Linked DNA regions of Homo sapiens: region 1 is linked to region 2. The links are contacts of gene promoters, found by promoter capture Hi-C in human tissues and cell types (Jung and others, 2019). All regions are on one chromosome and are shown on one strand. The core of a region is centred on a gene start or on the middle of the fragment in contact, and the rest is flanking DNA. Distances in the headings are between cores, read along the strand shown. Region 1 overlaps AGBL4 (AGBL carboxypeptidase 4). Region 2 holds the start of SPATA6 (spermatogenesis associated 6).

Evidence for each region. The method cuts DNA at HindIII sites, captures the fragments that hold promoters and counts their contacts. A contact is called where the count stands out against the background at its distance.
Region 1: a contact is called between a fragment that was not itself captured here and the fragment with the promoter of SPATA6 in region 2, in 1 of the 25 tissues and cell types used here (mesendoderm cells).

The regions. Positions count from the first base shown.
Region 1 is chr1:48,526,266-48,533,276 of GRCh38, forward strand. AGBL4 (AGBL carboxypeptidase 4) reads right to left here. Exons shown (of 14, transcript NM_032785.4): 14 at 6,589-7,011. Among named protein-coding and RNA genes, the nearest start is that of SPATA6, 58 kb to the left of the region's middle. RefSeq lists an enhancer at 1-461. The HindIII fragment of the contact is 7,029 bases long and covers 884-7,011 here.
Region 2 is chr1:48,470,887-48,478,221 of GRCh38, forward strand. SPATA6 (spermatogenesis associated 6) reads right to left here and starts at 1,318. Exons shown (of 13, transcript NM_019073.4): 1 at 1,072-1,318. The coding sequence starts at 1,122. It overlaps LOC124904175 (a long non-coding RNA gene), which reads left to right. Exons shown (of 2, transcript XR_007066074.1): 1 at 1-66. RefSeq lists a silencer at 1,000-1,389 and an enhancer at 1,600-1,649. The HindIII fragment of the contact is 25,705 bases long and covers 1-7,335 here.

The DNA of each region.
Region 1 (7,011 bases), core at 3,148-5,647, 58 kb after region 2:
ACGAAAAGAACACAAGCATTAGAGTCTGATGACTCCCAGGCTCCTCCACTTACAACAAGCTGCACAACTTTGGTCAGATTCCTTAGTCTCCCTAAGCTTCTGTGTCTTTAGCAGGGAAATGAGGAGAATAATGCCTACTTCATAGGGGTGTTGTGAGGATTGCATCAGATCATGGAAGACAAAGCAATCAGTACAGGGCCTGGAGCCAAGTAAGCACTCAGTCAGGGCAGAACAGCAGTAACAGTAGCAGCTGCAGCGGCAGGAGGAGGAGGAGGAGTAGATTAGTAGTAGCAGCAATATCCACAGTAGTAGTGGTAGCAGCAGCGGTAGTAGCATTAGATTAGCAGTACCAGCAACAGGAGCAGTAATAGTAGTAGGAGCAGCAGCAGCAGTGGAGTAGTAATGGGAATAACAGTAGAAGTAGATTAGTAATAGAAGCAGCAGTAGCAGTAATAGCAACAGCAATGTTTTTACTAGTAGTAATAGCAACAGCAGAAGTAGTAGTTATAACCACACCAGCAACAATTGTTATGATGTTTATTGTTATAGAAAAAAGGATCTAATTGCCTTGGGCTGTGAAAAAGAATTTAGCTTTCAGGAAACTGTTGGAGGATTAAGTAAATCTGTCTCCTTCATCTCTCCATGGACCCTGGGGCCATGAAGATCATCCAGGACCGCTGACTCTAAGTCTAAAGCACTCTACCATACTATGCTGCCTTTAATGCTGAGTTGGAGCTTAATTCTGTAAGTAAAGGAAGCCATAGAGGAAATCTGAGCTGTGGAATGTCTCAGAGAGGTTGAGGCTTTGGGAAGATAAAGCCATAATTAGGATTCAGTTATCAGGGTGAGGTCAGGATAGAATTTTCGATTTGAGATTTTGTTCATTCTTTCTTTTATTCTGCTGTAGTTACTGAGTGCCTCTGACCTGTCTGGAACCATTAGGTTCTATGGGAGGTGTGAAGACAAATAAAACCTGAACTTTGCCCCCAAAGACATTAAATGATAGTGGGGGAGGTGACAATCAGCTGAGTGAAATAATTAATAAACAGGCCTGGCGCAACAGCTCACGCCTGTAATCCCAGCACTTTGGGAAGCCCGGGGTGGGTGGATCACGAGGTCAGGAGATCAGGACAATCCTGGCCAACATGGTGAAACCCTGTCTCTACTAAAAAAATACAAAAATTAACTGGGCGTGTTGGTGCGCGCCTGTAGTCCCAGCTACTCAGGACGCTGAGGCAGGAGAATTGCTTGAACCCAGGAGGCAGAGATTGCAGTGAGCTGAGATCGTGCCACTGTACTCCAGCCTAGTGACAGCAAGACTCCATCTCAAAAAAAAAAAAAAATTGATAAACAGATGAATAAGCAAAGTGTTAGGGCAACCGAGAAAAGAAAGCAATTAATGACAACTGCTAAGACTGGGAGGATATCATGAAGTTGGGACACATGAGCTAAGTCTTGAATGATGAGAAGGATTTTCTTAGTTAAGAGGAACAGAGATGTTGGCTGGAAATTAGAGAGAACAAGCAGGAATAACCAGTGGGATTTGGCAATTGAACAGAAATGGGGCGTGAAAGACACAAAAGTCGGATGATATCCAGGCTCCTGGCTTGGACAGTTAATTTGAAAGAAGTACCATAAAATGGGGTCATGTTTTATGGAGCTCCTGGAAGCTTCTAAGCAGGGAATGGGTTAACAGGAGAGCATCTGGAGACAGGGAGGCCATTCCAGCAATCCAGGTAGGAAATAATGGTGGGAGTGGCTAGGAGGGAAAGCATGGAAAGGATAGAGGGAGGGAAATGCACAACAAACCTGCCAATAGGCATTATTGTCCCATTTTAGAGATGGGGCAAGTAAACTGCTCTAAATGATTTATAAGATGATTAGCAAGCGGTGGAGCTGAAATTAAAATTCAGGTCTATCTGACTCAGAGTCACTCCATAATACTACCTGAAGGCAGACACACCAAAGAGGCAGAAGCAATGGGACGTGGTGGTTGGTCAGCTGTGTGGGGAGAAAGACATAAAGGAGTTAAGGCAAGGGCAGGGCTTCCAACCTGAGCAATTAGATGGAAAAAGAGAATATTAACCAAGGCAGCTGATGCCAGGGAGAGAAGCAGATTTGGACTTAAGATTGACATGGGGTCAGCTAAAAATAGATCCCAGGTCTTTAGGGGAACAAGTAAATTTTAAGCACTAAGGAGTTATAATAGGCATCATTAGGATGACTTTCTGACTTGTTCGGGCTTAGTGTCGAGGTCTGGGGCTGAACCGAGAGACAGAGAGGTGTGGTAGAGTTGTGTTTGTATCCAGGGTCCACATCCTGTCCTAGTTACTTACTGGCTGTGGACCACGGGCATGAGATTAATCACACTAATCTGAATTTCTTCATCTGCAAAGTTGAGAAAATAAGCCCTGACCAGCACACCACCTGAATTTGGTGTATGAAGACAGATATGTGAGTGCCTTGGGGGAGTCCTGAATTTCAGCTGGCAGAGAAGATCTGTATGATTACTTCATAAAGATGATCCCTGAGATGTTGCATGCCAATCAAAGTAACATAAAAAAAGTTTTGTATGTATCCTGGTAAGATTTGTTTGCTATGATTTTGACAAAACATGGTATCTTGTAGAATCTATTTCCCCCTTCTCTTTTTAGTCTAGTTATTTCAGCCTCACATGAGGCTGGGTGAATATCATGTTCAACACTGTCTTCCCATTTGTTCAGAGTCCCAACTTCCAAAGCCTCTTTCCCCTCCCTCAAGGGTTCAGGGTTTTTGGGTGACCTCACTCTCACCATACCCACTATTTATTCATTCCACACTCAGTGAGCACAGACTCTGCTACGTAATCTGTGTTAAGTGCTAAGACTACAGAGATGAATAAAACCTAGGTCCCTGGCTTGACACTGATCCCTCAGTGTGACTGCCTTTCTTCTGGACACTCCTCTCACTCTTGTCCTCTACTCAAGAAGCATTTGTACTTCTGTCTGTACGTCATCTGGGGAGAAGAAAAGCTTTGGCTCTAGAGAAGGGATTTCCAACTCTAGCAAGCAGATGAGAGGCAGAGCAGGGGTGAAGATGGCTTGAGAAAAGAGTTTTTCTCAGTTCCAGGTATTTTATAGATGTTATTATATTCAATTCTCACCATAAATATAGGAAGTAGATATTATTCAGTTCATTTTACAGATGAGGATCCCGAGACTTAAAGAGATTACATTATTTGCCCAAAGCCATACAGCTTAACAGAAGAGCTGGGATTCACACTCAGGTTGGCCTGACTTTAAACTCGGGCTGTTCCTATTACGTTATGTCTCCCCTCTGCTTTGTGGCCCTGATGCCCCTTTGGCTGAGCTCAGCCAAAAGGTACCAGACTTCTTTAGTGCTCAGAAGGCAGGAACTTAGAGGAAGAATTCCGAACAAGAAATGAGGGACATAGTAGGCTTATTTCGCATACCCCAGATGGAGGAAGTGATAGGGAACCAGAGCTAGATTATCTGCTTGGGGCCAGTAACCCAGAGAGTGTCACGATGGGTCCAACAACCCTGCTGAGATTCCAGGGGCCCTCTGCATGTCAAGGGATAAATGGGCCCCTTGCCTAAACGCTGCTCTCTGGAGGACTCTGGAGTGCCTAGAAGAAGGTCAGACAGGTGTGTGGGAATGAGAGATAGGAAGAAGGCAGGGCTTCAGCAGCAAGTGCTAAAAAGTCCTGAAATCATTACACATTTTTCCCAGCCTGTAAACTTAACATGCTTCCTTCCCCTCTCCCTATCCCCCACTACCTCTAAATGATGCCATTGTTTACTTGTTATTCTGCTTTAACCTGTTTCTTTTTTTGACCTGATTTTACCTGGAGACAAATGGATAAGGCCCAGCACAAAGTAGTGGAAGGGGAGCAGTGTTTGAATCCAGGTTCTCACTAGCCACATGGGTGTAAAAAAAAGGTGTTTACCTTTAGGGTTCTCATTTTTTCTCATCTTCGAAGTGTAGAAAATGATACTTACCTGATAGGACTGTTGGGAACATTGAATAAGGCAATGGATACAAAGGGATCTAGAACTACACCTGACACACAGTATATGTTCAGTAAACATCTGGATGTATGAATCGATGCTGCACAAATGTTAATCAGCTTACACTTCCATAGTTGGCTCTGTTCTTACTATGTAGAAAAATGAGTTGGGTTCTCTAAGGCAGGTCTCAGGTGTGTCAGTTGAGTTACAGTGAAAGGATACTAGTTCTTTCTGTGTTTACCGCCCCGCCTCCATTTAAAAGGCAATAGAAAAAGCTTCTAGACAAAGGCTCACTGTTGGCTGCCGCAAAGCAAACATTATCACCAACCTCCTCTGCTGGGGGCTTAGCAACGAAGAAACTGGGTAACCTCCAGTTTGTCTGCTGCAGCTTGAGGGTAAACAGACTTTTAGTCCTGTCTCTGCACCTCTGAACTGATACAGAGCAAAACTAGCACTGCATCAGTATGGAGAGTTGTGTGAGAGCCAGGTTGAGACCTGTCATGATCCCTCTCCTTCTCACCCCTACTTTTTGCATAGTTGTCTGTCTCCTTGGAAATGCACAGAACACTGCTTTGGTGGCCAGCTCCACCCACCTGTGGCTCTAATCTGAGACAGACCTGGCTGGACAAGAAGATAGGCTGGTGCGCCCCCTGCTGGAGCCAGGTGGGCTAGTAGCCTCTGGCGGGTTGTACACCTCTTGGTGCTGTCCTCCATCTCAGTGCTGAAAACCTTTCCCCTCTAGCTTGAGGTCATAGGTATAACCTTGTTCAAGAAAGCTAAGGAGAAGCTAAGCAGGCCAAGACCACACAGAGGGCTGCTGACAACCCCTGGGCTCTTGCTCAGTCCTTTTTTTCTGCTCTGCCAATGTGGAAAAGCAGACAGTCATCTTGCAAACACACCCTCCTACAGGCTGCCTTATAGCCAGCTTTTTTTTTTCTCTCTCTCTCTCTCTCAAGGAATGGGAAATTTTATCAGAGTCCATATATGCTGTAATTCAGAGACAGTTCATATCACTGTGTCTAGCATTAAGTACTAACTATACTGTACACTCCATTTGCTGACATCCAGAAATGTAACATCCTGTCCCATGTCATTTCAGTCCAGAGAAATGACATGAGGTGATGCTTCGGAGCATTCAGCTTCCAACCCAGCATCCCCCTAGAGAGGGAGTCCCCTCTATTTCCTCCCAGACAGATGTTCGTTCAGATTCTTCTTGCACACCTGTGGTGATGGGGAGTTCATGGTCTTCCAAAGGAACCCATCCAGTGGTTGGCAATTCAATTCACTAGAAGGTTTTCCTCATCCTGAGCAGAAATCTGTCTTACTGAGACTCACTCCCTGGATTTGGTTATTACCTCTCCAAATCCAGGAGAGGTAATAAACTTGTTTGGCAGCACAGAACAAGTTTGCTTCTTTTGTCCAATGATGTCTGTTTAGCTTTTTGGAGACTGTGATCTTTCTTTCCTATTCCCACTCCCTCTTATTATGTATGTATGTATGTATGTATGTATTTATTTATTTCAGCCAGAGTCTCACTCTGTCACCCAGGCTGGAGTGCGGTGGCATGATCATGGCTCATTGGCTCACTGCAACCTTCACCTCCCAGGTTCAAGCAATTCTCCTGCCCCAGCCTCCTGAGTAGCTGGGATTACAGGTGCGTGCCACCACGCCTGGCTAATTTTTGTATTTTTAGTAGAGACGGGCTTTCTCCATGTTGGCCAGGCTGGTCTCGAACTCCTGACCTCAGGTGATTCTCCCGCCTCAGCTTCCCAAAGTGTTGGGATTACAGGTGTGAGCCACCGCACCCGGCCTATTTTTTATTTTAAACAATAAACTGCTCCAGTCTCCTCATTCCTTTCTAATGGGGAAGGATTTGCAGATACCTCACTTTCCTAGTCATATTCCAAATGATCACAGCTACCATTTAGTGAGCACATAAATATTTTTGCCTACATTTTCCACACGTAAGTTCATTAAACTTTCATAACTATTATAACAAGGTAGATATTACTATGACCATCTTTCAGGTGAGGAAACTAAGATCTAGAGATGTTAAATAACTTGCCTAAGATCACACAGTTTTATTAAAGAAATAGAAGTAGGGTTTGAATGCAGAATTAGAACCCAAAGTTGCCTGGCTCCAAGTTTTTGCTCTTAAATAATCATTATACCTGCTGTTTGTGTAGTCTATGATCCAATTAATCAATGTAGTTTTAACTATATGGGCCAATATGTGATCACATTATGGAAGTGACCTGGCCAAGGAAACATGGATCTAGACTATTGCCTCTCTCATCTTATGCAATCTGCCTCTTTTCATGCTATCTAAAATGATGCTATCATTTCCAAAAGGCTGATACACTCTTGGTGCATGCCAAGCTGGTTGCAGTCAATTAAACTCCCCAGGACTTTGACACGGGAACTGCTGGAAATCAAGACTTGACTGTTGTCCCTTATTTTGAAAACAAAGTCCCTGACCTCAAAGTCAGGGTTATATCAGTTTTGGGGTTTGCCTGTTGGTTCTTGAGTAGTGGGGACTGAAAGGGAAAGGTGCCAAGAATGCTCAGAGGAACAGAGGAGCTGCACAAAACACTTTATTTGTGTTCCTCTGGGCAAAACGAACCCAGGGGAGAAGCTGTATATACAACATGACATTTGTAGCCAATCAACATATGGCTCTTTGTCATCATTTCTGAAAACTAGCATGCAAAGGAGAACAAGTTTTCTTTTTGATTTTTGTAGCAAACTTCAATAATCTCCAACTCAAACAAACAAACAAACAAACAAACAAACAAAAAATGCTTTAGTGGAGCTCTGTGCTAAGGGATTTTCCTCCCTGGAGCCTCCCTTCCTCTCCCTGTGTTCTAATCCTCATTTCCGGGAGGTCATTTTAATTAGCAGGCTGTCATGGTGACTCAGCCTGCTGTTTCCACAGACAGGAAGGGAGCAGACCCCCCTGGACCCATTCATCATACAAAGGCACTTTACTCTTCACAAAAATGCC
Region 2 (7,335 bases), core at 68-2,567:
AAGACTTACTGAGTAAGAAGGAGCGAAGAGACCGAATGGTGAATTTTGGTTCCAAACTCCGTACAGGTCTGTGCCTGCAGGACTAAAACGGGGTGTGGAAAGGGTCTTGTGGAGATTTCCTCCAGAACAGACAAGCGGGAGTATTCCTCTAAACAGGGGAATGAGAGGGTTCTCTAAAGAATGCAGGGGAAGAAGTTCAAAACCCTTGGAAGTCTTCTGAGATCAACAAGGGGAATAGAGTTTTCTCCTAGCATGGAGAGGTCCAGCCCCTTCACTGGATGAGTGGGGTTCTCTGCCCCAGCTGGACTTCCACAGGAGGATGGAGGAAAGCATCCTCTTGAGCAAGTCTGGAGAGTGAAGGGGTGGGGTTGCAAGGTTGGAGAAGGAGGTGTTTCCCTCATAAAAATGACTGGGCCTTTCTTGCAATGGCTGGCACAAAGTCGGAAGGGTCTGGGGACGGGAGGGGCCTGAAGTGATTTCTGAGGAGTTGGGTTTTTCCTGTAAGGCCCTGGGAGGGAAGGCAAGGTACTTTGCGCAATGACACATTTCAGTTGTTGGATGTGAAGATTCTCCTTCGAAGACAGAATAAAGAAAGGCCCCTTCATTAATGCGGGTTTGAAACTGGTCTGAAATGGTGTGCCTGCAGGGATTCGGGAGGAAATGCGACGCCCACCCCCAGACTTGGGAAAGGCGGGGGCAATAATTCTCTAAGAGAACTGGAGCCCGAAAGAGGAATGAAAAGCCCCCGCGCCGCGCACATACACTCTCTCTCACTGGAAAGTTAGGAGCGAGGAAAGAACTCTGAAGTGATTTGGGAACGATCTGAAAGCGCGCAAGTTGGAAGTCGGGTTGAAGCCAGCATAGCGGAGCAGGGGTCAGGCCTCTGCGTGGCCGGAGTGGGAGAGCGCTTCTGAGAACAAGATGGGGCAGGACCGAAGGGGCGTGAGGTCGACGCTCCCTAGGGATGATTCGGAGGGTGAAGGAGGTTTGGGGGTGGTTCCGGGCTCTCGGAGGTGACTGAGGGAGTCCCTGAGCCAATGCCCGGGGGTGGGAGGCGCTACCGGTACTCACTGAGCTGATCTCCAGCGCCAGGGCGCACTGCAGCGCCTTCACCTTCGGCATCCGTGCGGGGAGGGGCGGCGGGGAGTGACCCCGGCCACGGGCCCGAGTGAGGCGGGGAGACCTGGGGCTGGGCGGGGACGGGGAGGAGACGAGGTGGCGGCGGCGGTGGCAGCAGTGGCCCCCAGGCCGGGGCCCGCGGTCCAGCCTGGGTTCCGCCGGAGAAGCAGCTGAGCGCGGGGCGCAGACTCGTTGTCATGGCAGCCAGGAGGGGCGGGGCCGGAAGAGAGGCCGCGCGGGGCACTCCAGGGCTACCCGCGCTGGGACGAGCGCTGGAGGCGGAGCTTGACGAACGCCGAGCGAGGCGGAGTCGGGCAGGGGGCGGGGCTTCCGAAGGGGCGGGGTGAGGCAAGGCAGCTCTTCTGTGACGTCAAACTGCGCCCAAAGCCGGACGAAAGGGAGCTGCTGTTTGTATAATGGGACGGTGCTCTGTTCAGGGAGTTGGAGTTCCTGTAAGGCCGTCGGAGGGAACCCCTGAGTTACAACGTGGTGATGGCACCTTGGGCTAGTGGCGACCCACTGTGGCCTCAGTTTTCCCAATTGTAAAAGAATAATAATTATTGTTAGTCCTCCTATTTAAATTTCACGGCACGGTTTACAAAGCCAGCATAAGGATACTGGGAATTAGGGAAGAGACTTGCCCAAATCAAAGTCGGAACCAGGACTGGAACCCAGGAGCTCTCAAGTTAAACCCCAGTTGCCTCCCTGAGGAGAGGGGCTTGCATCAGATGGTCCATACTCCTAGTCTCCTATTCTGTGATTCCCTTTGTTAGCGCGTTCCCTTTTCCCTTCAAATTTTCCTGTCTAATTCACCCATGTATGCGTCTTAATGCATATTGCTTAAGTGGAACTGTCAATGAGGTGCCAACAATAAGTCCAGCTGTGAAGGGCCTGACAATAGACCATCAAAGATAAAAAGAACCTAAGAGATTGCCCAATCCAATCATGTTAAAAATCATTTGTATTGCAAAATACATTATACATGCAGAAGTGTATAAAACACGTTTATCTTAATAATAATGTGAACAGTACCTGTACAACTAGCACCCGGTTAAGAAATAAAACATTACCAGCACCTGAAAAATGCCCCCAACGATTACATTGCCTTTCTCGCCCTGGAGTAACCACTACCCTGACTTTTGTACAATAATTCTCTTCCTTTTGCCATTCATGTATGCATTTCTAAACAAGATATTGTTTAATGTTTTCCGGTATTGATAGTATATAAATGGTATTAATACTGTATGTATTCTTCTGTGATTTGCTTCTCCCACTTAATATTATGCCACCGGTGATGCTGTGTAGCTGAAGTTTTTTCCATTGCTGGACAGTATTCCAATATAGATTGATTTATCCTTCCTACTATCAATGATCACTTACACTGTTTTCATTTTTAGCTATTATTAACAATGTTGTGAACATTGTAGTACAAGTCTGTGTCTATTAATGCACATGTACTAGCGTAGGAGTGGGTTAGCTGGGTATTAGGGTTTTGCACATGTGGGTCTTTAAAAAGTAAGACCACACCATTTTCCAAAGTAGTGTACCTATTTATGTTTCTGGTGCTTATGTATAAGAGTTCTTATTTTTCCACATCATCAGCAACATTTGTGTTTGGATTTTTAACTTTTGTATATTTGGATGTGTGTATTTTAGGTATTTCATTGTGGTTTTATCTTGAATCTCTGGGTACTGTTGAGGTTGAGTACCTTTGGTTTTGTTAGCCTTTCCATTATCTCTTATTGAACTGCCAAGTAGTTATCTTGCCCCCTTTTCTGTTGGTCTCTCTCTCAGTTCTTTATATACTCTGGATAATAATTATATGTCTACTCTATATGTTGCAAATATCCTTTCCACTTTGTGTTTGTATTTTAATTTTACATATAGTCTGTGATGAACAGAAGATAAATTGTTGTCATGGAGTATGAGTATTCTCAGTTTGACCATATAATTCCAAGTTGCTATCCAGAATGCCATACCAGTCTATGCTCCCAATATTCGAAGGTTACTATGGCCCCACATTCTTCCCAGGCTTGGCATTATCAAGGGTTCTTGTTTTCCCCCAACATAACAGATGTAAAGTGTTATCTCACTATTGAATTTTTCAGATTACTGATGAGTCTGAGCATGTCTGTATATGCTTATAAGATTTTCTATCTTTACTAAAAATCATCTGCTCATAATGCTTTACCCCATATTCTATCAGGATTTTTGTCTTTTTTTTAGGAATTTTGTGTATTCTGGTTAGTTAATAAATTAATTCTAAGACACTACAAAAATCTTCTCTCTTTATGGTATTTTTATGAACTTTGCCCAGGATTTTGTTTTGTTTTGGGGTTTTTTGGGTGTTTTTTGTTTTGTTTTGTTTTTGACAGGGTTTTACCCGTCACCCAGGCTCTGGAGTGCACTAGCACAATCTCGGCCCACAGCAACCTCTGCTTACCCAGTGATATGGTTTGGCTGTGTCCCCACCCAAATCTCATCTTGAATTGTACTCCCATAATTCCCATGTGTTGTGGGAGGGACCTGGTGGGAAATAATTTGAGTCTTGGGGGTGGTTTCCCCCATACTGTTCTCATGGTAGTGAATAAGTCTCACAAGATCTGATGGTTTTATCAGGGGTTTCCGCTTTTGTATCTTCTTGTTTTCTCTTTCTGCCACATGTAAGAAGTGCCTTTTGCCTCCTGGCATGATTCCGAGGCCTCCCCTCCCTGTGGAACTGCAAGTCCAATTAAACCTTTTTTCCTTTCCAGTCTTGGGTGTGTCTTTATCAGCAACATGAAAATGAGCTAATACAGTAAATTGGTATCAGTAGAGTGGGTGTTGCTGAAAAGATATCCGAAAATGTGGAAGCGACTTTGGAACTGGGTAACAGGGAGAGGTTGGAACAATTTGGAGGGCTCAGAAGACAGGAAAATGTGGGAAACTTTGGAACTTCCTAGGGACTTGTTGAATGGCTTTGGCCAAAAGCCTGATAGCCACATGGACAATAAGGTCCAGGCTGAAGTGGTCTTAGGTGGAGATGAGGAACTTATTGGCAACTGAAGCAAAAGTGACTCTTGTTATGTTTTAGCAAAGAGACTGGGGGCATTTGGCCCCTGCCCTAGACATTTGTGGAACTTTGAACTTGAGAGAGGTGATTTAGGGTATCTGGCAGAAAAAAATTCTAAGCAACAAATCATTCAAGATGTGACTTGGGTGCTGTTAAAGGCATTCAGTATTATAAGGGAAGAATAGCATAAAAGTTTGGAAAATTTGCAGCCTGATAATGCGATAGAAATGGAAAACCCATTTTCTGAGGAGAAATTCAAGTTGGCTGCAGAAATTTGCACAAGTAATGGGGAGCCAAATGTTAATCCCCCAGACCATGGAAAAAATGTCTCCAGGCCATGTCAGAGGGCTTCACGGCAGCCTCTCCCATCACAGGCCCCGAGGCCTAGGAGAAAATGGTGTCATGCGCTAGGCCCAGGGTCCCCATGCTGTGTGCAGCCTAGGGACTTGGTGCCCTGCGTCCCAGCTGCTCCAGCCATGGCTGTAAGGGGCCAACATAGAGATAGGGCTGTGGCTTCAGGGGATGCAATCCCCAAGCCTTGGCAGCTTCCACATGGTGTTGAGCCTGCAAGTACACAGAGTCAAGAACTGGGGTTTAGGAACCTCCACCTAGATTTCAGAAGACATGTGGAAACACTTGGATGCCCAGGCAGAAGTTTGTTGCAGGAGTGGGGCCCTCATGGAGAACCTGTGCAAGGGCAGTGAAGAAGGGAAATGTGGGGTTGGGAGCCCCCATACAGTGTCCCTACTGGGGCACCACCTAGTGGAGCTGTGAGAAGAGGGCCACTGTTCTCCAGACCCCAGAATGGTAGATCCACCAACAGCTTGCACAATTCACCTGGAAAAGCCACAGACACTCAATACCAGCCTGTGAAAGCAGCTGGGAGGGAGGCTGTACCCTGCAAAGCCACAGGGGTAGAGCTTCCCAAGACCATGGGAACACACGTCTTGCATCAGCGTGACCTGGATGTGAGACCTTGGAGTCAAAGGAGATCATTTTGAAGCTGTAAGATTTGACAGCCTCGCTGGACATTGGACTTGCATGGGCCCTGTAACTCCTATGTTTTGGCCAATTTCCCTCATTTGGAATGACTGTATTTACCCAATACCTGTACCCAAATCATATCCAGGAAGTAAATAGCTTGCTTTTGATTTTACTGGCTCATAGGCAAAAGGGACTTGCCTTGTCTCAGTGTGGACTTTTGGGTTAATGCTGAAATGAGTTAAGACTTTGGGGGACTGTTGGGAAGGCATGATTGGTTTTGAAATGTGAGGACATGAGATTTGAAGGGGCCAGGGAAAGAATGATATGGTTTGGCTGCGTCCCCACTCAAATCTCATCTTGAATTGTACTCCCATAATTCCCACATGTTATGGGAGGGACCCAGTGGGAGATAATTTGAATGATGGGGGCTGTTTCCCCCATACTGTTCTTGTGGTAGTGAATAAGTCTCATGAGATCTGATAGTTTTATTAGAGGTTTCTGCTTTTGCATCTTCCTCATTTTCTCTTGCCGCTGCCAAGTAAGAAGTGCCTTTTGATGAGTTCATGTCCTCTGCAGTGACATGGATGAAGCTGGAAACCATCATTCTCAGCAAACTAACACAAGAACGGAAAACCAAACACCGCATGTTGTCACTCATAAGTGGGAGCTGAACAATGAGAACACATGGACACAGGGAGGGGAACATCACACACCGGGGCCTGTCGGGGGGTGGGGGGCTAGGGGAGGGATAGCATTAGGAGAAATACCTAATGTACCTGATGGGTTGATGGGTGCAGCAAACCACCATGGCATGTGTATACTAGCTATGTAACAAGACTGCACGTTCTACACATGTATCCCAGAACTTAAAGTATAAAATAAAAAAAAGAAAAAGTTCCTTTTGCCTCTGCCATGATTCTGAGGCCTCCCCAGCCACGTGGAATTCTGAGGCCTCCACAGCCATGTGGAATTGTAAGTCCAAGTAAACCTCTTTTTCTTCCCAGTCTCAGGTATGTCTTTATCAGTAGCATGAAAATGGACTAATACACCCTAGCTCAAATGATAATCCTGCCTCAACCTTCCAAGTAGCTGGGACTACAAACGTGCACCATAGCGCCTGGCTAATTTCTGCATTTTTTGTAGAGATGAGGCTTCACCATGTTGTCCAAGCTGGTCTCAAACTCCTGGGCTCAAGGGAACCACCCACCTCGGCCTCCCAAAGTGGTGGGATTACAGGCGTGAACCACTGCACCCGGCCATTAGGGTGTACTTTCGTTCATAGAAGTAACCTAACTTCGATGTAAATCAATCATTTTTGCCTTATATTTGTGTTGTGTTTTTAACATTTTAGTAAGTCTTCCCAAAATTAGCTGGGTATGGTGGCTCATGCCTGTGGTCCCAGCTACTTGGGAGGCTAAGGTAGGATTGCTTGAGCCCAGGAGGTGGGGTCTGCAGTGAGCGATGTTTGTGCCACTGCACTGCAGCTTGGGTAACAGAACCCTGTCTCAAAATAAACAAACAAATGAACAGTTTTCCTAGTCCCCAGATTCAAACATACTGTATTTTCTGTTTTCTTATATTAACTTTATAGTTTACCTTTCACATTTTGATGTTTAATCTATTAAGACTCAATTTTTGTACATGACGTTAAACAGTAATCCAGGATTCACTTTCTTGTTGTTGTTGTTTTCCCCTTTAAAAATGTATGCTAGATTTTCCAACAATACCTACTAAACATTCTATGCTTCCCCTCATTGATTTGTGGTGCTACCTTTCTTATGTATTAACTACCAAAGTTCTGATTTCAACCTTGCTCTTCTGTTCCAGTCTTCTATTTGTCTATTCTTGCAACAGTACCACACTGCTTCTATTTATTACTATGGCTTCTGTTTGGCAAGTCTCCTTTTTTAGGAGATAGATTTAGCTATTTGTGATCCTTCATTGCTTCTTTTTATTTTAGAGTAATTTTATCAAGTTCCTCAAATAGTCCAGCTGGAATTTTGACAATGATACATTAAACTTATAGATTAATTCAGGGAATTGACATCTTTGTAATATTATGTCATCCCACCCAAGTGCATGGAATATATCTCTTTTTTTTTTTTTTTTTTTTTTGAGATGGAGTCTCACTCTGTTGCCCAGGCTGGAGTCAGTGTGGCACAATCTTGGCTCACTGCAAC